5 separate regions of the Homo sapiens genome follow, and all the other regions are linked to region 4. The links are contacts of gene promoters, found by promoter capture Hi-C in blood cells and fetal thymus (Javierre and others, 2016). All regions are on one chromosome and are shown on one strand. Each heading gives the region's core, a stretch centred on a gene start or on the middle of the fragment in contact. The rest is flanking DNA. Distances are from core to core; before and after follow the strand shown. Region 1 overlaps F8 (coagulation factor VIII). Region 2 overlaps MECP2 (methyl-CpG binding protein 2). Region 3 has its middle 20 kb from the start of OPN1LW. Region 4 holds the start of G6PD (glucose-6-phosphate dehydrogenase). Region 5 overlaps MECP2 (methyl-CpG binding protein 2).

The links. The method cuts DNA at HindIII sites, captures the fragments that hold promoters and counts their contacts. A CHiCAGO score of 5 or more calls a contact.
Region 1: a contact is called between a fragment that was not itself captured here and the fragment with the promoter of G6PD in region 4, in 3 of 17 cell types (fetal thymus, total B cells and megakaryocytes). The highest score is 6.2, in fetal thymus.
Region 2: a contact is called between a fragment that was not itself captured here and the fragment with the promoter of G6PD in region 4, in 4 of 17 cell types (total B cells, activated CD4 T cells, total CD8 T cells and 1 more). The highest score is 8.2, in total B cells.
Region 3: a contact is called between a fragment that was not itself captured here and the fragment with the promoter of G6PD in region 4, in 3 of 17 cell types (total CD4 T cells, naive CD8 T cells and naive B cells). The highest score is 6.8, in total CD4 T cells.
Region 5: a fragment that was not itself captured here is called in contact with the fragment with the promoter of G6PD in region 4 in 6 of 17 cell types (total CD8 T cells, non-activated CD4 T cells, naive CD8 T cells and 3 more); the score reaches 9.2 in total CD8 T cells.

What each region holds. Positions count from the first base shown.
Region 1 is chrX:154,839,834-154,842,533 of GRCh38, reverse strand. All of the region lies in intron 25 of F8 (coagulation factor VIII), which reads left to right. Among named protein-coding and RNA genes, the nearest start is that of SMIM9, 6.5 kb to the right of the region's middle. The HindIII fragment of the contact is 732 bases long and covers 984-1,715 here.
Region 2 is chrX:154,093,319-154,096,018 of GRCh38, reverse strand. All of the region lies in intron 1 of MECP2 (methyl-CpG binding protein 2), which reads left to right. Among named protein-coding and RNA genes, the nearest start is that of MECP2, 3.0 kb to the left of the region's middle. The HindIII fragment of the contact is 989 bases long and covers 787-1,775 here.
Region 3 is chrX:154,122,953-154,125,652 of GRCh38, reverse strand. No RefSeq gene overlaps it. Among named protein-coding and RNA genes, the nearest start is that of OPN1LW, 20 kb to the left of the region's middle. The HindIII fragment of the contact is 1,815 bases long and covers 492-2,306 here.
Region 4 is chrX:154,545,396-154,548,095 of GRCh38, reverse strand. It overlaps G6PD (glucose-6-phosphate dehydrogenase), which reads left to right and starts at 1,250. Exons shown (of 13, transcript NM_001360016.2): 1 at 1,250-1,307; 2 at 1,933-2,060. The coding sequence starts at 1,941. IKBKG (inhibitor of nuclear factor kappa B kinase regulatory subunit gamma) reads right to left here and starts at 476. Exons shown (of 10, transcript NM_001099857.5): 1 at 351-476. RefSeq lists enhancers at 89-368, 1,671-2,214 and a silencer at 809-1,368. The HindIII fragment of the contact is 7,888 bases long and covers 1-2,700 here.
Region 5 is chrX:154,052,197-154,054,896 of GRCh38, reverse strand. The region is part of intron 1 of MECP2 (methyl-CpG binding protein 2); the gene reads left to right. Among named protein-coding and RNA genes, the nearest start is that of MIR718, 34 kb to the right of the region's middle. The HindIII fragment of the contact is 7,842 bases long and covers 1-2,700 here.

The sequences.
Region 1 (2,700 bases), core at 100-2,599, 290 kb before region 4:
CAAGGCATGACATATTAAAATGTGGGAATCAGCTAAAGCAATATTTAGAAAGAAATGTATAGCGTTAAAAACATATATTGGAAGAGAAGAAAGCCTGACAATTAATGAGCTAAGGTATGTCTCAAGAAGCTAGTGAAACAGCAAAATAAACCAAAAGGAAGTAGAAGCAAGGAAATAATAAAGATATGAAGTAAATGAAGTAAAAAAGAAACATACAATAGAGAGAATAAAGAAAACCAAAAGTTGGTTCCTTGAAAATTGACAAACTTCTGGCAAGAGCAATCAAGATGAAAAGAAGGCACAAATAATATCAGAAACTTTAAAAAACTGGACATCAATAAAGATCCCACAAAAATTTCTGCCAATATAAAAATATAAAAAATGAGGATACTTATTAATATTAAATGTTCTTTCTTGTTGTATTTACCAGGGATTAATCCATTTTACCTAATTTTCCAAACTTAGTGTTAAAAGGTTATTAATTTAAAAAATCCAGATCCAGATGGCTACACTAACTATATTCTACCAATTTTTCAAAGGAGAAATAATATTAACCTTGCAAAAATTCTTTCAGAAAATGGAAAAAGATGGAATGTTATTCAATTATCTTATGATAATAGCATAACCTTGACAACCAAACCGAACAAGAACAATATTAGAAAGGAAGATAATAGGCCCGTTTTATTCATAAACATAAATCCCAAACAAAATATTAGCAATATGGATCCAAATTGGATTTATGCTAGGAATGCAAGTTTGGCTTATACATTAGAAAACTGATATAATTTATCACAGTGACAGACTGAAGGATTATACATATTGGCTGTCCTAAGCAGTGCAATAAGATGAGAAAAAGAAGGAAAATATGTAAGGATTGAATATGATGAAACAAACTCATTGTATGTGGAAGATATGATGGCATAGATAGAAAATCCAAAGGAATTTATATATAAATTATTAGAATTTTTAAAATTTTTCAAGCTTGCTGAAAACAAAATAAATACCAAAATTAATTGTATTTCTGTATACCTGAAACAGTTGGAAAAATAGTTTTAAATAGCATTTAAAAATTCCAAGCAGGAGTTGCACATTCCTGTCAGATAATGGCAGCTGCCTAAATCTCTCCACAGTCTTCAAAAACCATACATACACATACACACACAATTTTAAATTATGACTAAAACCACCCATAACCCATCTATAGAATAACCAGAAGACAAAAAGTACTATAAGTTTATATTTACAAGTAGAAAATAAATATATAAATCTAGCCAACCTTGCTCCAGAGAGAAACCCTGTCTCAAAAAAAAAAAAAAAAAAAAAAAGAAGAAAGCAAATGTTGGAAATTAACTGTCCTATAAAAACAAAAGTGAATTACTAAATCACAAGACCCACAAACCTCTTTGGTCACATCTATTAAATAAATTACACTTCCATTTATCAACAGTAGAGGGTACTCCTGGCTAAGAAACCTAGTAAGCCACCCAGCCCTCATGTCTGCCTGCATAAATCACCTCTTATTGCTGAAACAAGAAAATGTAAGGAATTTCTAAATGAACAGAAAATAGCATATGAAGCAGATGGTATTAATGTTCTTGAGTTTTTATTCCCTCTTTCCTTGAAAACCTCATCAACTTTAGGCATGGCCGTACGGCTCATCTTGATCAATAGAATGTGATTGGACATGACATATATACCACTTCCAAATAGAAGCTTTAAATGTGATTTTGTGTTTGACACACTCTTTTGTGCCTCTGCTCCAGGCTCCAGACTTTAAGCCTCTAGAACGATAAGTGAATAAATTTCTTTTGTTTTAAAGGCACCAAGTGTGTGGTGAATTTGTTACAGTAGCCCTAGAAATCTAATACTAACAAAAAGAATGTTAGAGTTGAATTAGAAGTGTCAGTGAGAACTTAGGAATTTAAAAAATCATATTCTTAGCACTGTTCACTGAGGGAATCTAGAAGTAATTACACTGCAGTAATAACGAGCCCATCCCATGCCCAAATCTTGGTCTCTAACTACCATTTTCCAGTCAAAAGAATCTGAGCTCCCTAGAGAAATGACTTTTTCAAGGCTGGATCAAGGAAACTGCCAGGCAATCTTAGATGATCTTGGTGATCTTGATGTGCCAGAAGATTAATGGGATCATGTGAAAAGAACACAGAAACTGGTCTGAAGGGCTTCCTGTTGGCCAGATTTGAGACAATTTGAGCATCAAAAGGAATAATGAGGGTAATGGATCATAACTGGAAAATCAGTTTGCAACCATCAATGTACTTACTATTGAATACTTGTAAAGAACTTTAAGGGTTGCTAATACCATTGGATAAAAGCTTGTTGTGAAACAGAATATTTGCATGGTCTCAAAGTCTCACTCCACAGATTGTTAGGAAAGGGAAAGGGTTACCTTTATAAATATAGAGATTAGGTGGACATCTTAACCAAGTGATCAAACTTAGCATCATCAATAATGGGACAATCTGGCATCGCATGCCCCCTGATTTAATGCAGTAAGGATTAAGTCTAACAAAAGATGTACAAAGCCTCCAAATACAGCGTAAACATTTGTAAAATAATCTCAGAACAGGGACCTTAATGTTTCTCAAAAATTTTTCCAAATACAGAACTTTATTTCTATAGATGTTTATGGTATATTTGCCATGCTATATACATTATGCTATATATTCTATGTGCTGA
Region 2 (2,700 bases), core at 32-2,531, 450 kb after region 4:
TTGCACTAATAGGTAATTATTACTCTAGAGAATTTTGGGTTCCATGGCTGGAATGTTCATCAGTATCTCAGCAATTTCAGTTAATAACCAGATTAAGCTGACCTCTTGAGTCTTTTGAAATCTGCTGGGTCCCTATAATAAGACAGGGTCTGGATTTTTTAATCTTTTGGGAATTTCCACCAAGGATTTAGGGAAATAGGCTTTTATGGGCTTTTCAGGATTTCTATTTCAAATCCCAATGAGGAAGTCTAGGAAACACTTGCTTTTATTTTCTTGCCTGAATATGTCAGAACCTTAAATCACCCAATCAATCTAGAAGTACTACAGTTGATTAAAGTAAGTCACCACAGGTCACCCATTCGTGGCAGGTCAGCTAGGTGGCTGATCACTGGAATACAGTCATATCCCCAGGCATACACACGAGCCTCACTTGACGATCCCAAAGTTTGTACATCTGAGCTTGAGACGTGACAAGTTGAGGTCTCTGCTTTGTTCTTCATAGTTGGCAGTTTGTCTCCTCGGGTGCCCCTCCGGTTAGCTGTTTATCATACGTCTAGCCCTATCAACAGTGCAGGCAGCTTCCAGAGTATAGTTTTCTCTGCAAAGTGCCTGGTGGAGGGGTACCTCCTTTTCCATTGTCCTAATGGCTCCACTGGGCTTCCATACCAGCCCTTTCCAGTGTCTTAACAGCTCAAAGAAACCCATCTGTGGCTTTCTTGTTAGCACTGGCCTATCACACCTTCCTATTGCCTGTTAACTAAAATTTTGCCTGGAATGCTTTAAGCTTAGAGTACTGGGTCTTTGTTTCACCCGATTGATAGGAGAGTGTCATGCAGTCAGCCGAACTCCGACTTCTGTGCTGTTTAAATCCTTAGGTAGGTCTGGGGCAAGGCACAAACCACTGTGTATTCAAAGGGTTATGGTGCTTGCATTCTGTGTGTATATGTTTGTAATTTCCAACCAGAGTCGTTTCCCGTGCCTGCCCTGCCTCTGTGCAATCTAGTCTAGTAGGGTAGGGAGGCAAGCTGTGGAGTTTGAAAAAAAAAAAAAAAAGCTAGATGAGTTTAATAGGCTGTTACCCCCTCCAGAACATTCCTCCCATGTGGAGATGAAACGAGAAGTTCATTTCTTTAACCTAAAATAAAGAACAACAGAGATAAAATTGTTAGTTCCTTATTGGAGCCTGGTTTCCATTGCTAATGTACCTGCTTGGGACTCTGCATGATAAATGACGTGTCCTGGAACCTGAAATCTTTTATAAAGGTTAATATCAGCAGAAATCTTTTAATTAGCTAAGAGCAGCTTGTTCTCAAGCTGCCCGAGTTATCTTGGAGGAGAGAATCACAGGAAATGTTTGATATTTCTAGTAACCAGTGTTTTCAGTGCGTGGGGTAAAGCACACTCCTAGACTGGCCAGTCCCAAAGAGTGTGGCAGGACACCTGCTTGTTTTCCCTGCCCTCTGCTATGGTGACATCCTTGCAGACCAGTCTTGCGTGGCTGGCAGACGCAATCTTTTTTTCTTGGGTAGAGCATTATCACCGCTGCGATGGAAGGACCTTGTCCTCGGTGCCTCCATACCAGCCCTTTCCAGTGAAACTACTGCTGTCCCGGCAAGCCCCTGTGCGTGTGCATCATTCCGGGTAGGACAAGATGTGAACAGGTCCCTCTTCTTTGGGCTTAAGTAGAAGTTGTGCTCTTCTGCTTTTACCTGTGTGCTCTTCTGCTTTTACCTGTTCTCTTCTGCCTTTCTCTTGCAAGAAACCTGTCGAAAGCTTGCTTTGCATGCCATTGCTTAAATACTTTGATGGTATGTATGGTATGTGGGATAACTGAGTGGGAGCCGGAATTGGGGGGTGGGCAGGGCATCCCCACCCCCACCCCCACATCAAAGGGGGAATGACCATTTCGTTAGAGAATAAAGCCTGAGTCTTATAACTTCTTCAAGCACATGTATGCTGGGTCTCCTGGCGTGTGAATGTGTTCCCGCTGTGCTGTGTGGCTGTTTTGCAGTTACTGTAGACACTGTAGTCTGGGCTCTCATTATTGCCTCTGAAGTTGACAGGACCAAGCCTTAGTAAGGATGCACTTGTCTTCCTAGCCCAAGAGCTAGGGGTGTTTTATATATATATTAACTTTCTTTTTTAGATTTCATAAACTGCTCTCATTTTCTCTTTTCTTTCTTTCTTTTTTTTTTTTTTTTTTTGAGACAGTCTCACTCTGTCACCCATGCTGGAGTGCAGTGGCACGATCTCAGCTCACTGCAACCTCTGCCTCCCGGGCTCAAGCAGTTCTCTGCCTCAGCCTCCCAAGTAGCTGGGATTACAGGCACCTGCCACCACGCCTGGCTAATTTTTGTATTTTTTTTTTTTTTTTTTTTTTTTTTTAGTCGAGACGGGGTTTCACCATCTTGGCCACGCTGGTCTTGAACTCCTGACCTCGTGATCCACCCGCTTCAGCCTCCCAAAGTGCAGGGATTACAGGCGTGAGCCACCGCACCCAGCCTCTGGCTCTTTTCTTTTTGACATGAAATCTTAAGTTAATTATCTTAAACTTTAAGAACTAGAAGGATTCTTAGTCCAGCACCATCAGTTTACAAACAAAAAAAACTTGTGTCCCTGAGAAGTTGTGACTTTTCCAGGGCCTCCTAGCCAGGATACCAGTTTGGTTTTTATTATATAGCTAGCCGAGTAATACTATTA
Region 3 (2,700 bases), core at 150-2,649, 420 kb after region 4:
GCTGATGTAAATCCTCCCTTCGTGGGCGCCCGCTAACTTCTGCCCCGTGTTGCTTTCTGCTGGGACACGGCAGCAGCGCTGAGTTCCGACGCAAAGCCCCACAGTCACCGTGCCCTCCCTCCCCCAAGTGTACAGCTTCTCTCTCTGCACCACGAGGCTGCTGCGGAGCGGGGGCTGGGGGTGGGGGGTGCCGGGGCTGAGGCTGGGGCGCGGGGCGGGGAGTGATTCAAGACTGTCCTTCCTACCCTTGTCACGGCCTCTTTCAGTGATGTGAAGTTCAACCAGGTCCTGTGATCGCTCACCTGATTTTTGGATATTAGGAAAGTGCTTTTTTGTGTGGCTAGTTGTTCAATTTGGTGTTCCCGCAGTGGGGATGATCACTGGAGGCTTCTATTTGGCCATGCTGTTCTGCCTCTCTCTCTATCTTCTGTGTTGATAAAGCCCTTTCAATATTAGTAAGTGTATTTAACACAGTAGAGATTCCTGAAGCTTCTTCATGACTGTTCAATTTGGGCCTGATAGCAATATGCGTTTCCTTGTTTCTTATCCTGTGACTGAGCAAGCAGGACATTGTAACAGTGGAGGAAAAATCCCCAGTTTTCCATGTTCTCTCATCCAAAAACTTTTTGAGAGAAAGAGTACATTTAGGAAGCAGGACGACCATTTAGATTTTTACTAATAGCCTGGTTTTATATGGTTGGTTTTATATGGCTATTTATAAATGTTTTGATTTAACTTGTTAAAGTGTAATATCCCAAAATTCTATGATTTATTTTTCTCTTTTCCCATTGCAATATTTATTTATTTATTTATTTATTTTGAGACAGAGTCTTTCTCTGTTGCCCAGGCTTGGGTGCACTGGTGCAATCTCGGCTCACTGCAACCTCCGCCTCCCGGGTTCAAGCGATTCTCTTGCCTCAGCCTCCTGAGTAGCTGGGACTACAGGTGCACCCCACCATGCCCGGATAATTTTTGTATCTTTGGTAGAGACCCAGTTTTGCCATGTTGGCCAGGCTAGTCTCAAACTCCCAACCTCAGATGATCCACCTGCCTCAGCTTCCCAAAGTGCTGGGGTTACAGGCATGAGGCACCACACCCCGCCCCATTCCAGTATTTAAAAACGACTTTTGTGCACAGAAAAGAGATAACATGATGATTTGTTCCCCACAACTTCAACTTATTTAATTTAATTAAAATTTCTAAACAGGTTACCATGTATATAGGAAGGAAAACCCACATTGTATAGAGACCAAAATTTATATAATTTAGGGTTCCTCTTTAAGAATACTAAATCACTTGCAAATGTGTCCATTCATTTAGAAAAAGATAAGAAATCACAACAAATTACAAATTTTAAAAAGCTGACAAATACAACAAAAGGCAGCAAAGTACAATGTTTTTGTTCCTATTATATTTTGTACTGAAGCTACCTGTGTTATCTTTTTTCCCCACATTTTGGCTGCATAGTGTTAGATCGCATCTTCATCTGACAATGATATTGTGACATAATTCTCACTAGAGGGAACAGAAAGATAAAGCAGTCTTCCTTCCACTCTGCTTGACTGAAATGTTTTCTGATTGCTATCACACAGTCTTTGTTTGTTTCCTTATCAGTAAAGCTGCACCAGAAACTTCCTCTGTCATTTCCTGCTCAGAGGCGCTCCCTGCCCCAGGACTAGCTCTCTGGGTGTGGCCTGTGGTCCGTGGTGTGGCCTGTGGTGTGGCCCATCAGTCCGCCCAGGGGTCACTCGCCCTCTGTGTGGCCAGTTGCTGGGTTGCTGTTCCTGCAGCAGCTGCCCTACCCTGGCCAGGCCCTTACTGTCCCTGGTTCTCTCCATCCCAGGACCATCCTAATAACCGTTTCTCCTTTTTTCTTTTTCTTTTTTTTTTTTTGGAGACGGAGTCTCTCTCTGTTGCCCAGGTTGGAGTGCAGTGGCATGATCTCAGCTCACTGCAAGCTCCGCCTCCCAGGTTCAAGCGATTGTCTTGCCTCAGCCTCCTCAGCCTCCCGAGTAGCTGGGATTACAGGTGCTCACCACCACGCCCGGCTAATGTTTGTATTTTTAGTAGAGAAGCAGTTTCACCATGTTGGCCGGGCTGGTCTCGAACTCCCGACCTCAAGTGATCCGCGCACCTTGGCCTCCCAAAGTGCTGGGATAACAGGCGTGAGCCACCGCGCCCGGCCCATCCTAATAACCTTGAAGCCTGATTGTAGCCTCCCCTCTCCCACCTGTCCTCAACCATGCAGGGAGTGGAGCAGTGCCTCACAGGGTTCCTCCTCCTGGAAGTCAAAGAAAAGTCAAGCTTTTGATGAGGTCTGGCAGCCCCCGTGCTACCACTGACCAGGGTGTGAGGGTGGCCCAGGCCTCTAGTGCCCAGCTGGGGTAGCTGCCCAGTCCCCAACTGTGTGGAGAGATTCTCACCGTGGGGAAACTCTAACTTTGAGAGTTTGTCTTAAAAGGCCAGCACTTTTATAGTATCAGAGGTTTGGCCCTACATTTTAAAATGTTTTTCTCTGGTGAGTCTTTGAAGCCAATCAATCAGAATAGTGGTTCCATCAGCTGGGAGAGCCTCAGCATCTTCATTCATTCATTTCCTTTGCAAATGGGCAAAAGTATCCTTTGGGGGAAACTCCTCCCCTTTACTCTAGTTCTAGCTGTACAGAAAAAAAGCCACCATCACCCAGCAGGATCGTCTTTT
Region 4 (2,700 bases), core at 1-2,500:
AGATACCTAGCTGCCAAACTATATGTGAGGCATTTCCGAAGAATTTAACGACCTCGATAGAGCGCAGTCAAGTTTGGTGAACAGAATATGTCTCTGAACTAGAGGAGTCCTCACACAAGGAGTAGGGTCAGACCCCGCAGTGGAGGAGGAGGGAGGAGTAGAAACAGTCCAGCTCGCCGCCCAAGTAACCTGGGTCCTGAATCGGCCCGCCTTGGCCAGTGCTCCAGAAGCGCGGAGCAGGAACGGGCTGGGGCCCAAAAAAGAGGGGGGAGCCTGAACGTCCGGGGGAAGTTTCGGAGGCGGCGGAACGCCCACGGATGGAACCCTGTCTTTGGGGAAAAGGACCACACCTGTCAGCAGAGTCCGTCAGACGTGAGAAGGGTGGGAGCGGCGGACTGTGAACGCTGGTAGGGCCCCGGCGCTCCGAGAAAGTCCCAGTTTCGCGGTCGCCCTTCCCTACCACGCTTCCGGCTTCCGGTGTCATAGCTGTGGGATCCGGAAGTAAAAACACAAGCCCCGCCCCCGAGAACTCGGGAAGCCGGCGAGAAGTGTGAGGCCGCGGTAGGGCCGCATCCCGCTCCGGAGAGAAGTCTGAGTCCGCCAGGCTCTGCAGGCCCGCGGAAGCTCGGTAATGATAAGCACGCCGGCCACTTTGCAGGGCGTCACCGCCTACACGCCCCCTCGTCTCTCGGACGGCGGCGTCTAGCCTCGGGGCGCTCGGCCGCCCCGCCCTCTCCGGGGGAGGAATCAAGAAGAGACTGCCCAATAGGGCCGGCTTGACCCGCGAACAGGCGAGGGTTCCCGGGGGAGTGGCGCGGCAGAAGGCCCCGCCCAGGAGCCGAGGGACAGCCCAGAGGAGGCGTGGCCACGCTGCCGGCGGAAGTGGAGCCCTCCGCGAGCGCGCGAGGCCGCCGGGGCAGGCGGGGAAACCGGACAGTAGGGGCGGGGCCGGGCCGGCGATGGGGATGCGGGAGCACTACGCGGAGCTGCACCCGTGCCCGCCGGAATTGGGGATGCAGAGCAGCGGCAGCGGGTATGGCAGGCAGCCGGCGGGCCGGCCTCCAGCGCAGGTGCCCGAGAGGCAGGGGCTGGCCTGGGATGCGCGCGCACCTGCCCTCGCCCCGCCCCGCCCGCACGAGGGGTGGTGGCCGAGGCCCCGCCCCGCACGCCTCGCCTGAGGCGGGTCCGCTCAGCCCAGGCGCCCGCCCCCGCCCCCGCCGATTAAATGGGCCGGCGGGGCTCAGCCCCCGGAAACGGTCGTACACTTCGGGGCTGCGAGCGCGGAGGGCGACGACGACGAAGCGCAGGTAACCGGCCGGGCGGGCGCCGCGCAGGCGGAGGAGCGTACTGTCCCGCGCTGCGCCGCGCGGCGGTAAAATACACGCTGTTTGTTGTGCTTGAGAACCGAGCAGAATCGAGAGGGTCTTAACCAATCCCTTTATACCCCGCACCTCCTCTCTTGAGCCCCTGAGACCCCGAGAGCGAAGGGGACTTGCCGACCGGGGTCACCCAGCTTGGCAAGGGGAGGGCTGGAGCTGAACTCCAGCATCTGCACCATCTCCCATGCTCCAGGTCATTGTGGAGTTCCCGCTACAGTCGGGAATGAGATGGTCCTGGGCACGCAGTTCCATGCCCCACAAGGATTTTACTCGGTTGTCCAGAATTGATGCTGTAGTCGGAATACACCAATGCTTTGAGTAATTTTGTAATGTACACCCTGAATGAAGGCTGCCTAGGAGAGAGTGGCTGGAGCCCAGAGCCAGCAGTTTCTAACCCATCAACCACTCCCCAATGCCCAGCCGTTCACAAGGAGTGATTTGGGCAATCAGGTGTCACCCTGGTGTGAGACCCCAGAGGAACTCTCAAGAAAGGGGCTAACTTCTCAATGCTCTCCTGTTCTTCTGCCTTGTTAACGAGCCTTTCTTCCACCAGACAGCGTCATGGCAGAGCAGGTGGCCCTGAGCCGGACCCAGGTGTGCGGGATCCTGCGGGAAGAGCTTTTCCAGGGCGATGCCTTCCATCAGTCGGATACACACATATTCATCATCATGGGTGCATCGGTGAGTATCTCCCAGGCCCCAATCTTAAAAGCCAGGAAGTGCCTGCTCCATGCCTCAGCTTTTCCAACTAATTGTTGCAGGGCCCCACAGGCTCTGCTAAGTTGAGCTCCTCCTCCCGCTCCTGCTAGTGCGCCAGGATCATCCCGGCTCTACCTGGTGTGCATATGCACTTGCAAGACTTTTTTTTTTTTTTTTTTTTGGAGACGGAGTTTTGCTCTGGTCGCCCAGGATGGGGTGCAGTGGCGCCATCTTGGCTCACTGCAACCTCGGCCTCCTGGGTTCAAGCGATTCTCCTGCCTCAGCCCCCCAAGTAGCTGAGATTACAGGCATGCACCACCACACCCGGCTAATTTTTGTATTGTTAGTAGAGACGGAGTTTCACCATGTTGACCAGGCTGGTCTCAAACTCCTGACCTCAAGTGATCCGCCCGCCTCGGCCTCCCAAAGTGCTGGGATGACAGGCATGAGCCACCACGCCCGGCTGCAGGACGTTTCTGAACCCTGTGCCTAGCCGCTGAATGTAGCCCTTAATCCTGGAGTTGCAGGCTCTTTAGGGACTGTCTAGATGGACTTCTTGGGGAAAACAGGGAATGCTATTCATTCTGTAGTTTTTTCAGACCTGTTCATGCCTTAACAAATG
Region 5 (2,700 bases), core at 89-2,588, 490 kb after region 4:
CCTGAGTAGCTGGGATTACAGGCTTGCACCAGCGCGCCTGGCTAAGTTTTTGTATTTTTAGTAGAGACAGGGTTTTGCCATGTTGCCCAGACTGGTCTCAAACTCCTGGGCTCAAGCAGTTCACCAGCCTTGGCCTCTAAAAGTGTTGGGATTACAGGTGTGAGCCACCACGCCCGGCCATCCCAGTTTTTTATTTTCCTCCTTTCTGTGTCTTTATGCATCAGTGAGGTGGAGCTTTTGAAAATGTCAGATAGCTAGATTTTTTTTTTTTGAGACGGAGTTTTGCTCTTGTTGCCCAGGCTGGAGTGCAATGGCGTGATCTCGGCTCACTGCAACCTCCACCTCCCAGGTTCAAAACAATTCTCCTGCCGCAGCCTCCTGAGTAGCTGGGACTACAGGCACGTGCCACCACACCCGGCTAATTTTGTATTTTTAGTAGAGATGTGGTTTCACCATGTTGGCCAGGCTGGTCTCAAACTCCTCACCTCAGCTGATCACCCGCCTCAGCCTCCCAAAGTGTTGGAATTACAGACGTGAGCCACCATGCCCAGCTGATAGCTAGATTTTTTTTTTTTTTTTTTTTTTGAGACGGAGTCTTGCTCTGTCGCCCAGGCTGGAGTGCGGTGGCGCGATCTCGGCTCACTGCAAGCTCCGCCCCCCGGGTTCATGCCATTCTCCTGCTTCAGCCTCCAGAGTAGCTGGGACTACAGGTGCCCGCCACCACGCGTGGCTGATTTTTTTTTTTTTTTTTTTTTTGTATTTTTAGTAGAGACGGGGTTTCACCGTGTCAGCCAGGATGGTCTCGATCTCCTGACCTCGTGATCCGCCCGCCTCAGCCTCCCAAAGTGCTGGGATTACAGGCGTGAGCCACCGCACCCGGCCTCGAGATTTTTTAAAAAATCCATTGTCTGTTTCGTCCTTTAACATCTATTTGATTTCTGATGTATTTAGATTCATTTATAGCATATTTGTGCATTCTATTTTTCCATATTTTCTGTTCTTTTAAATTTTCCTTCTCCTTTCTTGCCTTCTCTTAGACTTTTAAAAAAATTGTAGTAAAATACACATCACCTAAAATTTACCATTTTTAAATGTACAGTTCAGTGGCATTAAATACAAATTGGAGGCCAGGCATGGTGGCTCATGCCTGGAATCCCAGCACTTTGAGAGGCTGAGGTGGGAGGATTGCTTGAACCTGGAGGTCGAGGTTGCAGTGAGGTGTGATCACACTACTGCTATAGCCCAGGCAACAGAGTGAGAACCTATCTAAAAAAACAAACAAACAAACAAACAAACAGATTGGCATCACACAGTGTGTGTGCTGCTGTGCTGTGCTGTTATCATTTAACATTAAAACATAAACATCAGCACTGTTATGGACTGAATGTTTGTGTCCCCCAAAATTCCAGTGTTGAAGCTCAAACCTCCAATGTGATGTTATTTGGAGATGGGGTATTTGAGAGGTGGTTAGGTTTAGATGAAATCAGGAGGGAGGGTGGGTTTCGCATGATGAGATTAGTGTCCTTATAACAAGAGACAGCAGAGAGCTTGCTTTCTCCACCATGTGAGTATGCAATGAGAAGGCAGCCATCTCCAAGTCAGAAAGAGAGCCCTCACCAGGGGCTGAATGTGCTGACACCTTGATCTTGGACTTCTAGCCTCCAGAACTGTGAGAAATTTCAGTTGAATAGGCCCCCCAGTCTGTACTATTTTGTTATAGCTTGAGCAGACTAATACACCCATGTTATGAAAAGCTATAAACATCCCTTTAAAGGCCACCTAACGCGTCGTATTACCTCATGCATCTTCTCTGCTGAGCTTTCCAAAAGAGTGGCTTAGGCTGGGCCTGGTGGCTCATGCCTGTAATCCCAGCACTTTGGGAGGCCAAGGCAGGTGGATCACCTGAGGTCAGGAGTTCAAGACCAGCCTGACCAACATGGAGAAATCCCGTCCCTACTAAAAATACAAAATTAGCTGGGCGTGGTGGCGCATGCCTGTAATCCCAGCTACTTGGGAGGCTGAGCCAGGAGAATCACTTGAACCTGGGAGATGGAGGGTGCAGTGAGCCGAGATCGTGCCATTGCATTCCAGCCCGGCCAACAAGAGCGAAACTCCATCTCAAAAAAAAAGAGTGGCTGGCCGGGCGCAGTGGCTCACGCCTGTAATCCCCGCACTGTGGGAGGCCGAGGTGGGTGGATCACGAGGTCAGGAGTTCAAAACCAGCCTGGCCGAGATGGTGAAACCCCGTCTCTACTAAAAATAGAAAAACTAGCCAGGCGCAGTGGCAGGCGCCTGTAATCCCAGCTACTTGGGTGGCTGAGGCAGGAGAATCGCTTGAACCTGGGGGGCGGAGGTTGCAGTGAGCCAAGATGGTGCCACTGCACTCCAGCCTGGGTGACACAGTGAGACCCCGTCTCAAAAAAAAAAAAAAAAAAAAAAAAAGTGGCGTATGTTCCCGGTCTCCACCTCTCATTCGCCAGCCCCTGTGACCAAACCCCTGGGATTAGATCTCCATCGGGTCCCTCCCCTCACCCTAACCTCACATGCAGTGGTTCCTGAGAAGCTGCTGTTTATCTGATCACGGGATCCAGCAGGATCTGAGGGCTCATTCACTGAATCTGTACTACCCAACAAGGCAGGCTTGTCCTTACCCACACTTTTCAGGTGAAAACTTAATCAGATTCAAGCGTTTATCTTAGT